Regions from separate parts of the Homo sapiens genome. Here region 2 is linked to region 1. Evidence: promoter capture Hi-C in 16 types of primary human blood cells and fetal thymus (Javierre and others, 2016). All regions are on one chromosome and are shown on one strand. Each heading gives the region's core, a stretch centred on a gene start or on the middle of the fragment in contact. The rest is flanking DNA. Distances are from core to core; before and after follow the strand shown. Region 1 holds the start of RNF130 (ring finger protein 130). Region 2 overlaps RUFY1 (RUN and FYVE domain containing 1).

Evidence for each region. The method cuts DNA at HindIII sites, captures the fragments that hold promoters and counts their contacts. A CHiCAGO score of 5 or more calls a contact.
Region 2: a contact is called between a fragment that was not itself captured here and the fragment with the promoter of RNF130 in region 1, in 3 of 17 cell types (neutrophils, non-activated CD4 T cells and monocytes). The highest score is 6.9, in neutrophils.

What each region holds. Positions count from the first base shown.
Region 1 is chr5:180,067,645-180,074,005 of GRCh38, forward strand. RNF130 (ring finger protein 130) reads right to left here and starts at 4,115. Exons shown (of 9, transcript NM_018434.6): 1 at 3,812-4,115. The coding sequence starts at 4,058. RefSeq lists an enhancer at 3,789-4,496 and a silencer at 4,386-4,465. The HindIII fragment of the contact is 6,319 bases long and covers 2,235-6,361 here.
Region 2 is chr5:179,555,334-179,561,694 of GRCh38, forward strand. It overlaps RUFY1 (RUN and FYVE domain containing 1), which reads left to right. Exons shown (of 18, transcript NM_025158.5): 2 at 4,692-4,865. The region is part of intron 4 of LOC128966623 (a long non-coding RNA gene); the gene reads left to right. Among named protein-coding and RNA genes, the nearest start is that of RUFY1, 8.0 kb to the left of the region's middle. RefSeq lists a silencer at 306-482 and an enhancer at 4,100-4,219. The HindIII fragment of the contact is 2,450 bases long and covers 26-2,475 here.

The DNA of each region.
Region 1 (6,361 bases), core at 2,865-5,364:
TATATACATCCCCTTTTCTCTTGCCAGCCTATTTATGTTAAAATTTGATTTTTAGAGCCTCCAGCTCTTTCTGAATGTTCAGAGACCCTGCTCCCATGATCATATATCCTTTTTCTCTGAATATTTTGAAATCTGTGTCCAATAGCCCCTGCCTTTGCTGTTATGAATTCAAACATTACATGACCCCTTTCACCCAAATCCTGTTTTCGCATCAATCTCCTCCACTGTTCATGAGAATTTCTAAAAACCGATTTCAGATTCATTAAAGGAACCATTAAAGGCTTCGTCTAATAGGATTACATTTTTAAACATGAAAACCTAAGATTCACTTTTTTGAGTTTTATTGTATCCCTAAGCAAGTTAGCAAAACAAGATTTATTATTTGGTAAAATTATTCTCTAAGGCTGTAACATCCAATCCTGAAAATTTCTATGCAAAGCAAGAAGTGGCCGATACTAAACTCTTCCCCACCAGCACATCTGCATACATAATCACATCATCAACACAGGGCTTTCTCCTCTCCCAACCCCCACTCTGGGGCCAAACAAAAAGTTAGTGTGCACACACATAAAGCACATTTACAATGTCTGCTCCACAGCAGACCCTAGCTAGGCTGCTCCGCAAAGGTACTAAATATTTTGCTCCTAGTTCTAAGCTCACCATTTGAGTAAGTAATAAGAAAGCAACCGTGATCTGTGCATAAATACAAGACATGTTCCTTCAAAACTCCGTTTCTAAACACGAATTCTTTACCAGTTAAAATATAAAATGTGTTAGCCCCAGGCAAATGATTCTACACCCACCAATGCATTCGACTTAATGACAAAGACATATTTTTAAAGTACACTTGTTTATAAGATATCTCATAAAGTATACTACGTAAAGTATAGCACTTGCCAAAATATACTTTTAAAATACCAAAGTGCCTAAGAAAAAAATTGACTATTTGCTCTTTAAAGGGATAGGACAAATAAATGTTATTCAGAAATTCACACGTGCCAAACTGATAGTAGCACTGCAAAGCGAACAGGAAGGTTTCTAGTTTCATAAATCAATCCACAGCTTCAAAATGAGCCATCAGGTTCAACTCTAGGAAAACTATAAAGTTCTTTTGTCTTTATGTTCATTTCTATCAAACACCCTCAAAACAAATTTTCATGAATTTCACGTATTGGCCACAGCTGTTTTTCCACCAGGACCTGTCTGATAACTTTGTGTGTAATCTGAGCATTACTTTGCTTAGTGTCAACGTGCAGTAAGTCCTCAATAAACATGTCAAGAATTCTCCTCAATTCAAAATTATAAGAGCATCAAGGTCATAAAGATGCACTATTTTTTCTAAAACTAAAAAATTGTTAAACTCATTAAATCAAGATTATAATGTAAAATACCCAAGTATTCCAATTTTAAATCATTTTCTTAACACGAATAATTTTAACAGATTTATATCACCATTTCTGTTTCTAAAATAAATTCCTAAGTTCCTACTGCAACAGCAGAAGATTTAGATTTCATATAAACCCATAGGTTTAGAAACTACTGACAGGTAGGCTAACTTACAAAGATCCCAGCAGAAGCTATGCTTCATAGAGACGGATTTTTTTAAATCTGTTTTGTTCACTGCTGTTGCCTCTCCTTCACCAATGCCTTGACTGAGACTGGGCACACAGGATTTCAATTAATATTTGCTGGACTGAAAAACTGCGTATGTGTGAAGACCCTTGGTACAAAGCCAGACTTAAACCACCTGTAGGATCCCCCACCCTCACCCCCACCCCGAGAAAACCTGGAGCAAGCCCCTGTGGGACGGACACAGAATGACCCCTAGGGAATCAAGGAAAGGGAGGCTAAAACTCAAGGGGACTGACTTCACACCCAGTCTTCACACACTGCCCAAATGTGTTCATTTTGTTGCAGTGTCTGAAATCTCACCAACTGAGAGATTCCTCTAGGTTAACAAATCTCCTCTTTTCAGAATTAAGGAACCGTTTAAACCTGTCAACAACCTTAAGAGATGTACATTTCATCATTCCATTTTACAGATGAGCAAACAGGCTAAATGGCAGAGTTACTTTTACAGTGTCACACAATGGACGTAAAGCACAGGCCTGACTCAGAACCTTTAATCCTACAATGCTGCCTCCCCACTGAGAGGGGAACAGGACTAATCTTCATCCATACCTCAATACACATGAGTTAGTTTCCAATACCCTTCTACAGAAACACCTAAAACAAGCTTTCTCAAAGACGGGGCTTTTGTTTGGGGTGACAGGCAAGCAACAAGTAGCTGAAGCACACGAACACCGTGGAGGAAGGATCTGAAGTTCAGACCATGGATTTGGGGTGCCTGATGGAACCAAGCCTCAAAGACAAACCACAGATTTCACAACACTGCAGAGGACCAGCTCTTGCTCCACAACAGCTTGCCTCCCCTTCCTCTTTCTACCCTTCCACGTGACCCTCACGGTTCTCTCCACCAGAAAAGAGGCTACCATTGTTAGTTGCCAGTCTGGCAACACTGTGCATCTCAACCACAGTGACTGGCACAGAGCAGGAACGCAAATATTTACTGAATGAACCCAAGACAAAAGTTGTTTCTACGGCCAAGCTGGGACCCTAACTGCCATTTTTAACACAGTAGAGATGAGATATGCACCTTAAGCACCTGATTACTGGTGTAAAACGGACTTTTCAAAGCCTAGTCTGAGTTGCGGACAGGCTACAGTAAAAGCCTTATGTGATTATTTTTCCCCAGCCAGACTGTCTCAAAGAAGAAAACAGCTTAGCACTTTGGCATACAAATACAGACCTCAGAGGGGCATAATATGTTAGTATCTTAAGAGTGTACAAGCAAATCATGACTTTATTTAGGTTGCCTACTTTAGGTCATCCTAACATGAACAGCAGTTTAGAAAAGAAAAATCCCCTCTCAGCATTCTCAGGGTGACAATGAGGGTGGGGATAATGGCAGATATCTCCCAAAAGTTCAGCGTGGGCCAAAACCCAAAAAATCATATTCCACGATGTGCAAAAGGTTTCTTTCAAACCATGACTAATAATTTAAACAAATACATGTTTACACCAAATAATCAACTAAACAAAGTCCTTGTTCATAGGAAAACATGACATTAAGCCGAATGGTTTCAAAGACAATTCTTGAAAATTTTACCTATTTCCCTTTTGGTCGGCACCCGTGACCTGAAAAGCCTTGGCTAGTAGTTCCGATTAGTGTCAGATCCTCATAATGTGACATTTTCAGGCGTCAAATTACAGTAAAACTACTAGGGCAAGAACAAGAGCCAAAAGCAACAGGGAAGATGTCCATTTTCCATTTACACCCCCCCCCCAATTTACCACTTAAGAAAAACGGCACGTTTTTATATTAGAAAAGGGCCGCATCCTTCCAGATCTAGCGCAGCCTTAAGTCCGTGATTTGAGGAACCTGCCGCTTCCAAAATACAGGCTGAGACGTCCTCCCCATGAAGTAGTTTTGCGCTCTTGCACCACCTCCTTTGTCTACGCTGTCCCTGCAAACTCCTAGCTCAATGCCCTCCAGCAAACGAGCTGCCTGAACGCAAAGATGACCGTTCCAAGTCTTTTTTAAAAGAAGGGAAAAACCCAGTCACGCTCCTGGAGCCTGGTTCCCACGGGAGCAGGCCGGGCTGTCCACGACGGAAGCCTCGACCCTGGCTGGGGCTGTCGGCCGGGCAGCGCGGGAGAGCCAGGGCCAGAGCCGGGGCCGGGAACCCTAGTCCCGCCGCCTACGCGGGATGCAGCGACCACCGCCCGCCGCCCCCGGGCCGGCACTCACCTCCGTGGAGGGGCAGCGGCGCCAGCACCTGGCCGCGGACCTCGGCCTTGGGGGAGTCAAGCCCGTAGCGCCCGCGGTCGATGCGAAACGTGAGCGGGGCGCCGCGGCCGGGCTCCTGCACCGTCACGTTGATGAGCGCCGTGTAGTACTCCTGGCTCGCGTTGTCTGCCCGTGCCGGCCACAGGCTGCAGGTCAGCAGGGCGAGCGCGGCGAGCCGGGCAGGGCCCGCCCGCCCCGCGCAGCTCATCGTCCCTCCGGCAGCCGCCGCTGCTCGCGGACCGGGCTCCGGGGCCGGCGCCTAGAGGCGGGGCGGGCGCGGCCCGGGCGGCGGCGGGAGCGCGCGCGCGCGGCCTGCGCGGGGCCGAGCCCGAGCGCGGCCCTCCTGGACGCCGCGGCCCCGCCGCTCGCCGCCCTCACGTCCACTGCCCGCCTGTGGGGACGCGCCCATGGGCCCTCGGCGAGGGCGGCGTCTCAGGTCGCACGCGGGCGTCTCTTCGGGGTCCCAGGAGGGTTGTAGAAGCGTGCCCCCTCCATCCCCCCGGGTCGGTCCCACCGAATGGGAGGCGCCTCGCAAGGACGCGGCGGGGGAGGGGAAGGGCGGCACGGGAGGAAGCGCCCCGAGGAGGGTCAGCGGAACACAAAGTCCCTCTCGCGCGGCTGCCGCCTGAGGCGCGTGTCCGCCGCCGCCCCGCCCCCCCGCTGGTCTAGCGGCAACGCGCAGGCCTAAGGCGCAGTCCCGCCCCGAGCGCATGCGTGCCAGGGCCTGTCCGCTCCCGCCCGCCTGCACGAGGGCCCGGGCAGCCGGGTCAGCCGCTGGTGCTGGTTGTTTCTCTGTCAGGCGTGATAGCCGCAGGGCGTGGAGCCCGGGAGATTTGCGAGGACGTATGGAAATGTGTGAGAACAGACTACAAAGGAAAAAAAGCCATAACTTTAAAAGAAATGTTTAAAATTAAATGTCATGAGATTTAACATTCACGTCATGCGGTTGACATCATGGATGGGGGATGTCTCTGGCCCGGACCTGCAGGGACACGAGTGGTTGGGAAAGACCTCTAGGGTAGCCGTCCCTAACCATTTTGGCACTGGGGGACGGGTTTCCAGGAAGAGAGTTTTTCCAGGGACTGAGGGAGTTGAAGTGGTTTCCGGATGAGGCTGCTCCACCTCAGATCATCAGGCGTTAGATTCTCGTAAGAAGTGGGCAACCTAGGTCCCAAGCATGCGCAGTTCACAGCCGGGTTCACGTTGCTATGAGAGTCTAATGCCGCCCTGATCTGACAGGAGGCGGAGCTCAGGCGGTGATGCTCACTCACCTCCTGCTCGCTTACTGGTTCCTCGAAGGCCCTGGGCCGGTACAGGTCCGCGGCCGGGCGGTTGGGGAGCCCCTGCTCTAGTGACTAGGTGAACTACTCCAGGGGCCCCCGGACCAGAGGGTTGCAGTGGGAACCCCCCCTCCACCTTCCGAAACGCGCGCGCGCGCACACACACACGACTCTCATTTTCTCTCTCCATGGCGTTTAAAAGATACACATCGCTATAAAGTATCAGCTAAAAGGAAGAATGGGGCAGTGCAGCCGAATTCAGGAACTTACAGGATCTTTGTGGGGAGGCGGAGGGGGAAAGTTTGGCGTCTTCTGACCAGCCAGGGTTGAGTCTCCTGTCTCCTACTGCGGGAAGTGGGTGGAGTCAGCTTTGCACAACCAAATGTTCTGAAAATCCGGAAAAGAGGTGGCTCCCCAAAAAGAAATTTGAGGCACTGTTTCCAGGAAAGGGTACGGATGCAGTGCAGGCTAAAACTTAAGATGCCCACCACTGGCCAGGCGCGGTGGCTCACGCCCGTAATCGCAGCACTTTGGGAGGCCTAGGTGGGCGGATCACGAGGTCAGGAGTTCGAGACCAGCTTGGCCAACATGGTGAAACCCCGTCTCTACTAAAAATAAAAAAATTAGTCGTGGTGATGCGTGCCTGTAGTCCCAGCTACTCGGGAGGCTGAGGCAGGAGAATCGTTGGAACCCGGGAAGCGGAGGTTGCAGTGAGCAGAGATCGAGCCACTGCACTCCAGCCTGGGCGACAGAGCAAGACTCCGTCTCAGAAAAAGAAAAAAGAAAGAAAACAGATGTCCACTATTGATGACTTGGCAGACATCCTTTACAATTTCTCCCTCCATTTCCCTCTCTTCCATCCTCTACCATAGTCCTTATAAACCGTGCCCTGGCCTATGGAGAACGGCTTTTACTTATTTACTTATCCTCGGCAAGTACAGACCCTAGGCCAAAGCAGCGGGGTCCTCGCCCTGGGCCTGGCACCTAAAGAGTGCTCTAATCTGGTCCCCTCCAGCTGGACCCTTCATAGGGCAAGGAGTCCTTAGCACCAAGGTACCCATGCTCTAGCACCTAAGACCCAGAAATTCCTTCTCCCCACAGCCCAGGGCCACATCTAGGGCCTGTGTAGGGCTCTTCCCGGTGACGGTCTCCTGCTCTTCTTGCTGGGCATGCCCTGGCCTACCCCTGCCCAAGAGGCTCATGGCCTCTACTCCTTTGTCCTTATAAAGGA
Region 2 (6,361 bases), core at 1-2,500, 520 kb before region 1:
TGTCATGTTGAACTATTATTAATGAAGCTTAGAGATGTGAATAGTTTGGCCAAGGTCACAAAGCCAGTAAAATTGAGAGATAGAACCGCTAAAAGATCGTTCCAGGTTTAATTTTCCATGCCTCTAACTTGAGTGCTAATGGGTACAGGTAACCCCATAGTAGGGGATGCATGAGATGGCAAAACACTGCCAGCAGCACTTCCAGAGACAGCACCACCCAGCGCTGATTGCCTGGAACACTGGTCTTAACATTTTTTGCTCATGTAACCCCCTAAGAAAACTCCCAACTTTTTTTTTTTTTTTTTTTTTTTTTGAGCCGGCGTTTTGCTCGTCACCCAGGCTGGAGTGCAATGGCGTGATCTCGGGTCACGGCAACCTCCGCCTCCCAGGTTCAAGCGATTCTCCTGCCTCAGCCTCCCAAGCAGCTGGGATTACAAGCATGCACCACCACGCCCAGGTAATTTTTTGGATTTTTTTTTTTTTTTAATTGATCATTCTTGGGTGTTTCTCAATTTTTTGGATTTTTAGTAGAGACAGGGTTTCACCATGTTGGCCAGGCTGGTCTCAAACTCCTGACCTCAAGTGACCTGCTCACCTCAAGTGATCTGCCCACCTCGGCCTCCCAAAGTGCTGGGATTACAGGCATGAGACACTGCTCCCAGCCGAAAACTTAACTTTTAAAGTTAACGTATAAGATTATTCATCATATTTTAAAGTTGCTCAGAATTCATTTTCTGGCATAGTGTAAATATTGACTTTTTAAAATAAAACTGTTACATTGTTTTTTGAAATGTATCAAGTGGTATGTAAATACCTTAATGAATTGATAATTACCACCATCCATCTTTAAAATAGCAAGTTATTTAATATTTGAAAATTTTACATTTTCCCTTTTATTCATTGAACTTGGATTTCCATTCCACTTCTGCCATAGAATTAATGTAATAGATTTGTATGTTTTTAAAAGTGTTATTGGTCATCTTATAAGTCTCAGCAAAAAGTATGTAAATAAGTTAAAGTTTAATAAATTTTTATTGTGACTGAAGCTCTAAGTGTATAAAAATTTTTCTTCTGGAGTGAATTATCATTAAGTTTATTAGTAATGCTACATTGGTAACAGGAACATAAATATAATTTTTATAAAGAATTATACATAAATTTTTCTTGAATTGCGTTTTTTTTTTTTGAGAAGGGTCTCACTCTGTTGCCCAGCCTGGAATGCAGTGGCGCAATCTCGGCTCACTGCAACCTCCGCCTCCCGAGTTCAAGTGATCCTCCCACCTCAGCCTCCCCAGTAGCTGGGACTACAGGTGCACGCCAGCACGCCCAGCTAAGTTTTGTATTTTTAGTAGAGACGGGTTTTACCATGTTGGCCAGGCTGATCTCGAACTCCTGACCTCAGGTGATCTGCCTGCCTCAGCCTCCCAAAGTGCTGGGATTACAGGCGTGAGCCACCACGCCCAGCCAATGAATTGCATCTCTAAATGAGATGAATGGTGTTGGTTTTTGTCATTAGCATATATCTGTAGATGAATATATATGATTTACTGCTAAAGCGTGATAGAATTCAGCATCAGTTTTAGTCCTGTTTTTTGTTTGTTTGTTTTAGTAATGTTGGTCATCTTTGAACTCTTTCCAAGTTATATGCCCCAAATCACACTGATCTAAAGCCAAAAATTATTTTTTGTTCCCTTATTTTCATTCAAAGCAAATAATTGAAAATTACCTGACCTGCAACCTAATCATATTAAGAAAATTTCTCAACTGTTGGGAGTTACCAAAACAAAAGTTTTACCAAGACTTATCAAGTGTGAGCCAGGCACGGTGGCTCATGCCTGTAATCCCAGCACTTTGAGAGGCTGAGGCAGGTGGATGGCCTGAGGTCAGGAGTTCGAGACCAGCCTGGCCAACATAGTAAAACCCCGTCTCTACTAAAAATACAAAAAATTACCTGGGCATGGTGGCGGGCACCTGTAATCCCAGCTACTGGGGAGGCTGAGGCAGGAGAATCTCTTGAACCCAGGAGGCGGAGGTTGCAGTGAGCCAAGATCGTGCCATTGCACTCCAGCCTGGACAACAAGAGCAAAACTCCATCTCAAAAGAAAAAAAGACTTATCAAGGGATAATTTCACTTCTTATTCTTTCACTTAGGCACTTTGTTTAACCCAGAATACTCAGAATGGTTGGAGACATCTGAGTATTGCTTATTTCATTCACCTTTGCCAATACAGTACTTTTTGACAAAAATACTTTTAGTTTATCATGTATTTCAAATCCATTTTCATCAAATACTTAGCTGCAGTTTGGGCTCATTTAATTTACGGAAAATGGCCATCAAGCTAATGGCACATCTTAGGGTTGTGAATATTGACTGGTTGAACATAATTACATAGATTTGTAGGGAGAAAAATTTAATTTTCTAAATTTAGGACACCCAAGCAGAGGGTTAGAGACCACCCCTCTGCCCCAAGACCAAGCTTAACTGAATACCATAAAGCAGTAAAAGGCTGGTCTTCATGTTTTTGATTACTTAATCATCAAGGGCGACACCACCTCCATTTGGTGTATGGAACCTAGGGCACCCCAGGTCACCGTATCAAGAGGAAGACAGGTTATGGAGTGAGTTGCCCTTCTTTAGAGGGAGGAGAAAGAGTGCCTGTGAAACTTGAAAATCTGGAAATTGAGTTCCTTAAAACATCTGGGCATACCTAGCTTTGGCAAGACTGCTGTATATGTATTCCAATTTCAAGACCACTAGATGATAGAACTGGGCTTGGTGTCTTCTTTAAAGATAAATCTTTACAAATTGCTTTTATGGTTATTGCTGTCTTCAGAGTTTCTCCCTTCTCTTGATGAAGTTTTACAAGTTTTATTTCCTTTGCCAATCATCCATTACAGTTTTAAAATTTATAAATATAATACATAGGCTTCTCTCGAAATATAAAAATAATTATACTGGCCAGACATGGTGGCTCACGCCTGTAATCCTAGCACTTTGGGATGCCAAGGCGGGCGGATCACCTGAGGTTGGAAGTTCGAGACCAGCCTGACCAAAATGGAGAAACCCCGTCTCTACTAAAAATACAAAATTAGCCAGGCGTGGTGGCGCATGCCTGTAATCCCAGCTACTCGGGAGTCTGAAACAAGAGAATTGCTTGAGCTCAGGAGGCGAAGGTTGCAGTGAGCCGAGATGGCGCCATTGCACTCCAGCTTGGGCAACAAGAGTGAAACAACATCTCAAAAAAAAAAAAAAATTATACCACCCCCAACGAAATGCTTTACTTAAGCCACTTTTAACCCTCTCCACAACCAAGGTGAAATGCTTAGGCTGTTTCTTCTTGCCCAGCAGCTCTCCCCCTACCTTCTTGGGTTTTGCTGAGATAATTTTGAATTTTTAGTCCCAGGATGTCTCAGTATTTATTTAAGACCTTTACTACAAGTTCACGGCCATAATATTATCGTTCAGATTTAACTGTAATTAACTATATAAAAATATAGTACGTATAAATATGCTCTTTAATTGTCCATATTAATCAATGCTGGTGAAATAAAACAGGTAAAGGATTAGTATCCAAAATATACAGGTCAGTAAGACAAAGGCAAGCAATTCAACACGAAAGTCAATTGAGCAAGCAATTCACAGAAGAAATACTAGCAGAGAATAAACAGAAGTTATTTAACCTCAGTAGTAATTGGACAGCTGCAAACCAAAAACAATACGATCCCCCGCCCCCATTCCAATTGGCAAATATTTCCAAGACAATGTAAACGCGCGCGCGCGCCCGGGTGAGGGCCGCGCTTCGCACCTGGGACTTTCCTGCCAGGACTCTTACTTTGGGATCTAAACTTTTAGTTTCTAGGATACCAGCTTACTGGGTTTCAGAGAGCATTTGGCCAGCACGTATAGATATCTGATGATAATTGCACACAGTCTTTATTACACCCTCAAGGCAATGCGACAAGATAATGGGAGTTGAAATGGAACTCTCTGAATTCATTTGACTCCAACGGTTTTCCTTACCAAAAAACAAAGTGTGCGTAAAACCTAAAATTGTCCACTAGTAGCGGACGAAAGATCGGCAACAAGAATTTGAGCCTGGAGCTGAGGGGAAGATGCTTCCCTGCAGGCACCCGGCTGGCACTATCCGGCAAGAGAGAAGGCTGGAAAAGCCTTCTGGGCGGGGTGCGCATCCTCCTCCGTCCGGGACAGAGGGTGCAAAATGGCGCCCACCAGCTCCGTAGGAGAGGCCTTGAGCTGGACTCGCCCAATAGGAATGTTTGGGGGCGGGACGCTTTCCCAGCACGCCCTCTAAGAGCTTGGGGCAGGGCTTCCTGTAGGTAGCGCCCTTCCATTGGTCAAAAATGGAACCGGGGTTGCGGGAGAAGCCAAACGCGGCGAGTCTTGCTAAAGCCGTCGCCGTAGCAACGCGCGGAGCCGTCTGGGAGAGGCCTCTGGAGCAGGAGGCCCAGTGGCTCTTCTGACCCAAGGCCCCGCCGTCCAGGTAGGGGGCTGTGGCCTCTAGGGATCAGGGACTACTTACCTGCGAATCCCGGTTGCCCGCCCGCCAGCACGTCCGTTCCCTAAGCAGACCGCCTGGCCTCCTGCCTGACCCGTCTTCTCACCGTTGCCCGGAGTCTGACCTCCCCACGCTCAGTCCACTAACGAAGCTATCCCTGCTCCTGCCCCACAGCTTCTAAGTGCCAGATGATGGAGGAGCGTGCCAACCTGATGCACATGATGAAACTCAGCATCAAGGTGTTGCTCCAGTCGGCTCTGAGCCTGGGCCGCAGCCTGGATGCGGACCATGCCCCCTTGCAGCAGTTCTTTGTAGTGATGGAGCACTGCCTCAAACATGGGCTGAAAGGTGAGCCTGAGGGGGCGTTTGGGAGCGTGGAAGTTCGGGCTGGGTGTTTGCTCAGCATTTTTTCATCAGCGCCAGACATCCTTCTAGATGCTGAAATGCCAGCAGTGTACAGAACAGGCAAGGTTCCTGTATTCAGAAGCGACGTCCTAGAGCAGCGCTGGCCAATAGAAATAGCATGCAAGCTATATAGGCAATTTTAAAGTTTCTGGTAGCCAGGTTACTTTAAAAGCGTTAGATGAGGCTGGGCGCGGTGGCTCACGCCTGTAATCCCAGCACTTTGGGAGGCCAAGGCGGGCGGATCACGAGGTCAGGATATCGAGACCATCCTGGCTAACACGGTGAAACCCGGTCTCTACTAAAAAAAAAAAATACAAAAAATTAGCTGGGCGTGGTAGCGGGCGCCTGTAGTCCCAGCTACTCGGGAGGCTGAGGCAGGAGAATGGCGTGATCCCGGGAGGCGGAGGTTGCAGTGAGCTGAGATCGCGCCACTGCACTCCAGCTTGGGCAACAGAGCAAGACTCCGTCTCAAAAAAAAAAAAAAAAAAGAAAAAAGAAAAAAAAGTGTTAGATGAGATGCCTTTCTGTGGGGATAAAACTTTTAAAAATTAAGAAAAAAAAGTTAACCTAATTTGCTAAAATGTTTTAAAATTAGTGTTAATAATATATTTCATGGAACCCGTATATCCAAAATATCATTCAACACATATTCAATATTTAAAAGCCTTATTAGGCCAGGCGCGGTGGCTCACGCCTTGTAATCCCAGCACCTTGGGAGGCCGAGACGGAAGGATCGCTTGAGCTCAGGAGCTGGAGACCACCCTGGCCAACATGGTGAAACCCTGCCTCTGCTAACAACACAAAAATTAGCCGGGCGTGGTGGCGCATGCCTGTAATCCCAGCTACTCGAGTGGCTGAGGCAGGAGAATCTCTTGAACCCAGGAGGCGGAGGTTGCAGTGAGCTGAGATTGCACCATTGCACTCCAACCAAGGCTACAGGGTGAGATTCCATCTCAAAAATAAATAAATAAATAAATTAATTAATTAATTAAAACAGATGCAAAGGTTCTGAGTGGGACCAACCTTCCTCAGCTTGAGAAAGACTCCAGGTAACAGGTGTGCTAAGTGTGCTGAGGGAGAGGAGGGGAGGACATGAGGTCAGGGGAGTAGGGAGAGGCTGGACCATATATGTCCTTAAAGGTCAGATGAGGAGTTGCATTTTATTCTTAGTGTCTTTGGAAGATCCTAAAGGGAGAAATGTGTCCTAACTTCAGTTCTTAAAAGAATTTCTAGCTATGTAGAGAACAGATTGTAATGGTGGGGAGGTGACAGTATTAGGAGCAGGAAGACCAATTACAGCAGTACAGATGATGAGGATCTGAAAAAAACAAAAAAAAATAAATCCTTGATTTTGCCATCAAGGAAAAAAAGGGGGAAGAATTTCATAGTAGATGAGCCTATAAGGCAACTGTTTTTTTCTTTCTTTTTTTTTTTTTTTT